2 separate regions of the Homo sapiens genome follow, and region 2 is linked to region 1. The links are contacts of gene promoters, found by promoter capture Hi-C in blood cells and fetal thymus (Javierre and others, 2016). All regions are on one chromosome and are shown on one strand. Each heading gives the region's core, a stretch centred on a gene start or on the middle of the fragment in contact. The rest is flanking DNA. Distances are from core to core; before and after follow the strand shown. Region 1 holds the start of FRZB (frizzled related protein). Region 2 overlaps DNAJC10 (DnaJ heat shock protein family (Hsp40) member C10).

Region 1 (4,078 bases), core at 537-3,036:
CTATGTGCTCTGAAGTGGGGACATATTTCTCTGCTTGTTATGGACGGTGAGAGATGGCTAAATTGAAGCAGAGAAATATTTCAGTGATGCAGAGCAAAGGTGACTTCCTGTTTTGTTTCAGGTTTTGTTTCCTTCTCCTCTCAATGAAGGCTGTGTTTTCTGACATTCGGCAATCCTTTTGCTCAGTGATTTCCCATTGAGAGGGCATAGTGTGAAGGCCTCTGCAGGTCATTCCATTTACAATATAAGCTGAAAGGGTAGAGTGGGGCGGGGGTGGGGGGAAGAGGGAGCTCATTAGTGGAAGAAGCAGACCAGGAGGGGATCTGTTTTCCATTTTCTCCTCCAGATTGAACTCATCTGGATGGAAAGGTTTTGATTGTTGTTATAATCATCATTATTACCTGCGTGATGTCGTTTTCCTACACTTTTTTTTTAAGTGTCGGGCAGAATTGTTGCTGAGAATAACAAATAATATCTGCCATGTTATCCGTGAGCAAAATCAGAAAAAAAAAGTCCAAGTGTATTAGAGCTGTTAGTTTCCACGTTAACCCTTAAGGAGCAAAGCTCAAGAGTTCTAATTCCACTAGGTGGGGGGGGCGGGAATAGAAGGAAAAAACCCCTTTTCCTTGCTTCTGGTGGCCTATTTGTAGTCATGAACAGCATTTCTTTGTTTCTCTCTCTCTTTTTTTTTTTTTTTAAAGGCAATCCTCCCCCCACCTCCTCCCCCGCAGTTATTGAAAATGGAGACCTCTGTAGTCACTAGCTCTGGGTTGATATGGCTCCACCGTTGCTCGCAGGGGTCTGTGTTTTCCGCTACTTGGACAAAGTGACATTGCTTAAGCCTTTCCCCCCACCAGGTCTGACTTTCTGCAGAGCCAGTGATTGCAGAGGAAAAGCTGTAGTTTGCTTAAAGGAAATACCTCCAGGAAGGAGGGTCTCGGGTGGGTTCCCAAGTGGGGAACTAGGGGGACTTTTCCGTAGGGAATTGGGGTGGGCTCTTCAGTGAGGGGCTAGGGGCTCGTTTCTGGGGCCAAAGACGGGTTCCCTAGTGTGAGGGCGCGCTCGACTCGGCGCTGTCTTGGGGTCTCGCACTCGCACGGCTTCGCACCCCACCGCCTGCGACTCCCAGGCCTTCTCTTCCCCGGGCGCCCACTCCATTCTCGGGAAGAGCAGCCGGCACTGGAGGGCAGAGACTGCCCCAGGGGCGGAGCTCCCTCTCAGGCGGGAGGTAGGAAAGTGCAGAGCCGCCCGGGCAGAGGCACAGACGTCCCTGCGGGGCTCCTCCTGAGCGTCCCTCCTGCCAGCCAGGGTCGCAGCCGCAGCGGCGGCCGCAGCTCTTAGCCCACACAGGACTTGTAAACTCTTACTGCACCCTTCTCTCCCATTAGGAGCTTTTCCTCCCTCCTTCCCCCCAACCCCTCTGTCCTCCTCACTTTGGGGAATTTAATGCTTTCTTTAGCATCTTTTTGTGTGCGTGATCTAGGGGAGGAGACACCCCAGAGCTCCAACTAGCTCTCAGCTGAATTCTACTTTTGTTTTTATGTCTTCCTCGCCTCCTCTCGTGTCCCTCTTATCTGACTGATCTGCGAAGTCTGATGCTTCTGCCAGAGGGAGAGGAATAAATAGATGTTGCTGCTTCCGAAGGCTTAGACGTTGGGAAAGAGCAGCCTGGGCGGCAGGGGCGGTGGCTGGAGCTCGGTAAAGCTCGTGGGACCCCATTGGGGGAATTTGATCCAAGGAAGCGGTGATTGCCGGGGGAGGAGAAGCTCCCAGATCCTTGTGTCCACTTGCAGCGGGGGAGGCGGAGACGGCGGAGCGGGCCTTTTGGCGTCCACTGCGCGGCTGCACCCTGCCCCATCCTGCCGGGATCATGGTCTGCGGCAGCCCGGGAGGGATGCTGCTGCTGCGGGCCGGGCTGCTTGCCCTGGCTGCTCTCTGCCTGCTCCGGGTGCCCGGGGCTCGGGCTGCAGCCTGTGAGCCCGTCCGCATCCCCCTGTGCAAGTCCCTGCCCTGGAACATGACTAAGATGCCCAACCACCTGCACCACAGCACTCAGGCCAACGCCATCCTGGCCATCGAGCAGTTCGAAGGTCTGCTGGGCACCCACTGCAGCCCCGATCTGCTCTTCTTCCTCTGTGCCATGTACGCGCCCATCTGCACCATTGACTTCCAGCACGAGCCCATCAAGCCCTGTAAGTCTGTGTGCGAGCGGGCCCGGCAGGGCTGTGAGCCCATACTCATCAAGTACCGCCACTCGTGGCCGGAGAACCTGGCCTGCGAGGAGCTGCCAGTGTACGACAGGGGCGTGTGCATCTCTCCCGAGGCCATCGTTACTGCGGACGGAGCTGGTGAGTTTTGACACGGCCCACCCTTCCCTTACCCTACAGCCTCCTCAATTCTTGGAGTCCTTGTTACTAGCCTTTACTCTCTAATTTTTTTCTCTTCGGATCACTTAATCTCTCCCATAACTGCTCCTCTATCAAAGACCCTTCTTCTTCTTTCTTCTTTTTTCAAAAACAAAAACAAAAAAACCCTCACCTTATCACCTTCCAAACTGATGCACTCTGGCACTGTGTTCCAATAGGCGATCTTTCTAAAACAATCCATGCATTCCAAACCCATCACACTTCTACTCCACAGGAATCCTTCACTTCAACTCCTTACATGTGCAAGTAGCCACATTTTGTAAAGTGATGCTCTTTTTCTTTTAAAATGTGTTTATAATCATTGGGTTTTCTTTGCTGATTCTCAGGCAATCTCAGTCATCAGGTTTCTGTATCTTTAGTGTCTTAGATGCTTGTTAAGATTGTGTGGAGGAAACAGAAAACTGAAGCCCCATTTTCTTCTAATTAAAAATGCCAAGATAATTTCAATAACCTTACTCTAACCGACAGATGTTAGGGGTATGTGTTTGCTCAAGATCCAGTTTGAGCAATTACCTTCACCTTAAATTTCCCCCTCCTTTCAATGAGATAAATTGTTCTTCCATTCCAGAATGAAACAATTGTGAAACATTGCTATGCACTGTTAATTAGCTTCTGTGGCTTGCCATAGAGCTGGCAGACTGAAATTACTGAGCTCTTTTCACATGCCCACATGCCTTCAAGTCATTTTATAAGTGGCATACAGATGAAAGGAGTTATATTTAAGGCGTGTTATCATACACTCACGTAATGTTATTTTAAATCTCACCCCTTATTCCACTCTCATGTTTTGAAAAAAAAATTGTCTTTAATACCTTATTTCATGCTCCTTTTCCGTGTGTGCACCAACCACAGTCATTTCAGTCTTTCCCTACCATAAAACTTTATTGCAGCTCTAAATTTAATGGAGTCAATCACAAGTTGTTTTCTCACTAGTGTTTAGTCTAATTATGACATTTGTAACTTTAAGACCCCAACTAAACCTACTTCATTATGGTCCATTTAATTCTAACTCAGTATTACTTCTACCAACTAACCCAACCTCAAATTTTACCCTTCATATATTTTATAAAGAAGGCAATTTTTTTTCATGAGTGGTCCTCTTTCATACCACATCCCCCACCCCCCAACAACTCTGTTCTTAGATGTGTTGACTTGGTTGCCTCCATCTGTTTATTTCTTGGGCATCAACTTTCCTTCCTCTTTCAACTTGCGCAGTCTAGGCGCATGTCCCCAGTCCATTTCCAGGTAGTAATTCTTAGTTATCGGGAAATTGATTTGGAAAAATTACCTTCTGTGCACGTTGACTCATTTAACAAAGTGAGAGAAGGAGAAGTAATTGTAAAAATAGCTGAAGGAAAAAAAATAAACAGAAGAATTTCAAGAACTTTTTAATGGTGACCTCACTTAGTTTATCACTTTTTGAATATACCTATTGTCTTCTTGATTTTAATCAAGAACCAAAAGCTAGTTGTGCAAAATCATCACAGAAATGTATTTGCTATTAATCTTTGCTAAAAGAGCATGCTTGAGGCTTCGTACTCACTAAAGTCACAGACTGCAGAGTCTGGAAGTGCTCAGTGCAGTTGCCGCTCTGGTTTGCCAGGCACTTAGAATCAGTTAAATGCAGGTGCTCCTCTCAGGCCAAGGGCTAG
Region 2 (4,078 bases), core at 416-2,915, 100 kb after region 1:
GAGCCTTTTCCTCCCCCTACAGAAAAGCCATTGCCTTTCTTTCCTCCAACCTTAAAGGGACCTGCATCTGTTGGCCCCGTTCAGGCAACAGCACCTCCCATCCCCCTTAAGTAGATTAGAGGCCGCCCAAGTGACAGTTCTTAGATTATACCCCCGGTCAGCGAACATTTGTATGATTAGGTGGCTGCGTCTCCTCAACAAACTTCCCTGCTGGAGGGGTGCCTACAGGAGGGAAGGAAAGTGGCTGATTATGACAGTCTTCCTAATATGCAAGTTCTCATTTCCTATTTCCAGCATCAGCCTTTCTGGCCGTGTCTTTTTTCTGCTTCCCTGGAGTATAAGGAAAAGTTAGTTGCATCTTAGCAACTCTCCTGCCCCAGGCCTCTGTGGGTAGCAAGAAAGCCAGAGCTATCTGAGATAAAACCTAGAAGGCAGCATGCAACCAACTTTTCCTCACCAAGACATAAATATAGTTAGTGATTCTGCTTACATGGTGTATAGTATTACTCATTTAAATCTTGCACATGTGAAGGGCATTACTAATGAACCCCTACTAGCTTTGTTTCTTCCAGCACAAGAGCTCCTCGGTCCCATCATCACCCTCTTTACATCATACATATTCGCTCTCATTCTAAGCTACCTGGTCCCTTATCAGAAAAGAATGCTCAAGGTGATGCTCTAGTATGACCATAGATGTGGTCTGCAGATTCTCCTGCTTTTTTGCGAGTCCAGCTGATCATGATTTTTTTCATCAGAACGCCTGGATTCTTAAACAACAGTTTCATTTGACACTTGCTCAAGCTCGCATGATTATTAAAACTTGTCCTGATTGCCAACAGCATTCTCTTTCCCCTTTTTCCTTAAGGCTTGGTGCCAACCTACAAGGTCTGGTGCCTAATGCTATTTGGCAAACTGATGTTACTCAGTATCCACCCTTTAAACGTTTTAAATTTCTCCACGTTACCGTGTACACTTACACAGGCCTAATACATGCTACCCCCAGACCAGAAAAAAAACTAAAGATGCAATTGGTCATTTATTTGAATCCATTATAACTTTAAACCTTCCACAAACTATAAAACCTGATAATAGACCTTGCTAGCTTAGTGCTCGATTTGCATATGCATTGCAACTTTAGCACATACAACACAAAACTAGTATTCCTTATACCTCAACTAGTCAAGCCATTGTTAAACAAGCTTATCAAACTCTTAATATATATCTTAAACAAAAAACGGGGAATATGGGGCTCTCTTTTCGAGAACAGGACCTGTTGTTAGAGAATCGACCACAACAATGAAGGTGATGACTTGGAAGGCACCTAACACTACCTGGGGACAGCTAAAGAAATTGAATCAACAGGCATCTATTTGGCTTGCAGCTGTGGAAGCCCTCGCAACCGCATGGAATCGGTTTCTTAAGTATCTGGTGGTAACTGGGGAAACTTCTGAGAAAGTAAGACAAACATGGATGTTGGGGTGGCTGGCAATTCTTGTCCTTTGCCAAGTGGGATCAGCTCAAGAACATGTTTATTGGAGTCATGTTTTAAATCCCCGTTTTTAATGTTATTACATGGTGGGATGCTGACCTGCCTTTGTCATCCAATGATACTTTTGGGACAGGAGGTTGATAGATGCCCCTGTCTTACCCCTTAACTGAAAATTTGGGATGGATTAAACTTAATTACTACTTGATTTTATTGTCTAGTAATCCCCCTTTTTTTCCCCATAATAGCACATGATAAGTGTGTTACTCTCATTCTTCAGGAGTATCTTTATTACCAGCCCCAAAGGGATACTAAGTTTGCAAACTTGACCTTTATGTCTGCTGTTAGCACTAATCTTACTGAGGTCTCTAATGAAGCTACACAAGTGCCTGATCTTCCTATATGCTGTCTGAGTACGGACTGGCGATATAAGTGTGAGGCCATCCAGTGGTCGCCATGCAAACAGCCTGCGCTGCATCAAGAGCCTCTGTTTGATAATGACACCTTACTTGATTAGGGTCCCCATGGTAATCTTATGTCTGCAGATCAGACTATTGGATTTAGGAGTCCCTCCAATAGTTCTATCATCTGGTCAGAGTATGGGCTTTTAGGACCAATATTACAAGTAAAAGGGAAACAAGCTTTAAGCCATGCTCATACCCAGATTTGGAGATTAGGACTTCCTTTTTTTGAATGGGTTCTTTCCCATGGTGAGTATATTACTAGCGGTGGCAACTATACCCTCTCTCTGCATAATAATGTTACCGACATAGTCTTGATTTGTACTATGCACCCTTATATACTTTTGTTTCGGCAAGGTGTTCCTAACATAGAGCAGAATCAATCCTTTTATAGTATTAAAGTCTCTTCCAGTAGTTGGTATGCTACATGCTTCTCTCATCAAAACGTTACATAATTAAATATAACCTGTGTCATGATCTTAAAATGGCATGCAGAATGGTGGCTGCCTGTAAATTTAACTTGGAGCTAGGAAGAGGATTCCACCCTGCACCTATTTAGAAAAGCATTGTCTCATACTTGAAAAATAAGATTTCTGGCCACTTCAGTTGCCTTTTTACTCTCAGCTATTATTATATTAGCAACTGCCGCTACTGCAACTGCTTCTCTGACAGAATCTATTCACACAGCCTCAGTGATAAGCCACATGGTATATAATGTAACCCATGAATTTCAGGAATAGGTAAATATTGATAAAACTATTTTGTCTCACTTAGAGACCCTTGAAGCCACTTTTGAATGGCTAGGGGATCAGCAGCAGGCATTCATTACCCGTCAAAATTTACATTGTGATTGGCAATATAATTCTGTGTCACACCTCTGCCATATAATAGCTCCCAATATGCTTGGGAGAGAGTGAAAGCACATCTGCAAGGGGCTTATCACGACTATTTGTCTTCTCAAATTTCCACTCTTGAGTGTAAATTGAACAACTTGAAGAATAGTCACAGCAACTACAAACAAGTACCCTTCAGCAATTACAAGAAAGTTTTCATTGGTTAAACCCCAACACTTGGTTGTCTGGGTTAAACATATGCATTTAGGTGATGGCCGTTGTACTTATTCTTTTTTTTATCTGTTTGCTAGGCATTTGCAGACGGCTCTGTGCTGCCACCCAACGTATCTATGACCAAGGAAGAACAATAGAAGTTTACCTTGCATTGGATGACCAGCATGTGCTAAGAATTAAAGAAGAGGGAGACATCGGGGGAGCATGGCAATATATTCAACCTTATGTACGTGGCATTTGAGGTCGGGGCATGGAAAAATACTGAGGCACTGTGTGTATGTTATTTGTGCATGAGAATGAAATTCCTTGATCCCGAAAACAGGACAGGAGTGGAGTGTGTGGTGTGATAAGGAACGCTAAAAACAGCCTCCTGAGAATGCAGTTTGAGTGCTTTTACAAGGCCACAGGTGTCTCACGACTGGACCTCAAGCCATCTAGTGGATGTTTGTGGTTTAACAAGCCCTTTCAATAAATACTGTGCGGATGAATGCTGGGGTGGACTCTCTTAGAAGAGCTATCTTGCCCCCGTTCAGCTGGAATTGTCTGAGAACTCATTCTTGGCATTCACTGCAAGCTATAAGCTCTGGACAAAAAGTATAAAAATATTTGAAATTATCTATTTTTAATGTTTTACCAGAAAACATGAGTACATGGCAAATACTTTATCATTGTTCTTTCCTCCCCACAAAGGAAGCTCATTACTTTGAAACTTATTCAGTAAAAAGTATACTGAATAGAAATATACTAAGGAAATATTATTCCAAGCAGCAGTGTGTATTATAGAGTATTCTTAGTGACCTCAACAGTCACCATAACCTTTCACAGAAAAGTAGAAAATTACCTTGAATTCCAGCACTCAAAGATTATCACGAATAATACTTTTTTTGTCTCTTTCTAGTAGTTTTCCTATTCATTAGTATAAAAATGTTAAGGCAATTGAGTCTGTATCAACCACAAGACAAAAAACCTTTTAAGATCGCTTGGTATACATGTAAATTTTAAAAACTTGTATCAGTAATATGTAATAATATAAAAAAATGACAAGGATGAGAAAACAGAAAAAA

What was found. Contacts are between HindIII fragments. The CHiCAGO score rates a contact against its expected background, and 5 or more counts as called.
Region 2: a contact is called between a fragment that was not itself captured here and the fragment with the promoter of FRZB in region 1, in 1 of 17 cell types (megakaryocytes). The highest score is 5.5, in megakaryocytes.

The regions. Positions count from the first base shown.
Region 1 is chr2:182,864,345-182,868,422 of GRCh38, reverse strand. FRZB (frizzled related protein) reads left to right here and starts at 1,786. Exons shown (of 6, transcript NM_001463.4): 1 at 1,786-2,348. The coding sequence starts at 1,871. RefSeq lists an enhancer at 1,655-2,623. The HindIII fragment of the contact is 6,424 bases long and covers 1-4,078 here.
Region 2 is chr2:182,762,877-182,766,954 of GRCh38, reverse strand. All of the region lies in intron 22 of DNAJC10 (DnaJ heat shock protein family (Hsp40) member C10), which reads right to left. Among named protein-coding and RNA genes, the nearest start is that of DNAJC10, 49 kb to the right of the region's middle. The HindIII fragment of the contact is 928 bases long and covers 1,202-2,129 here.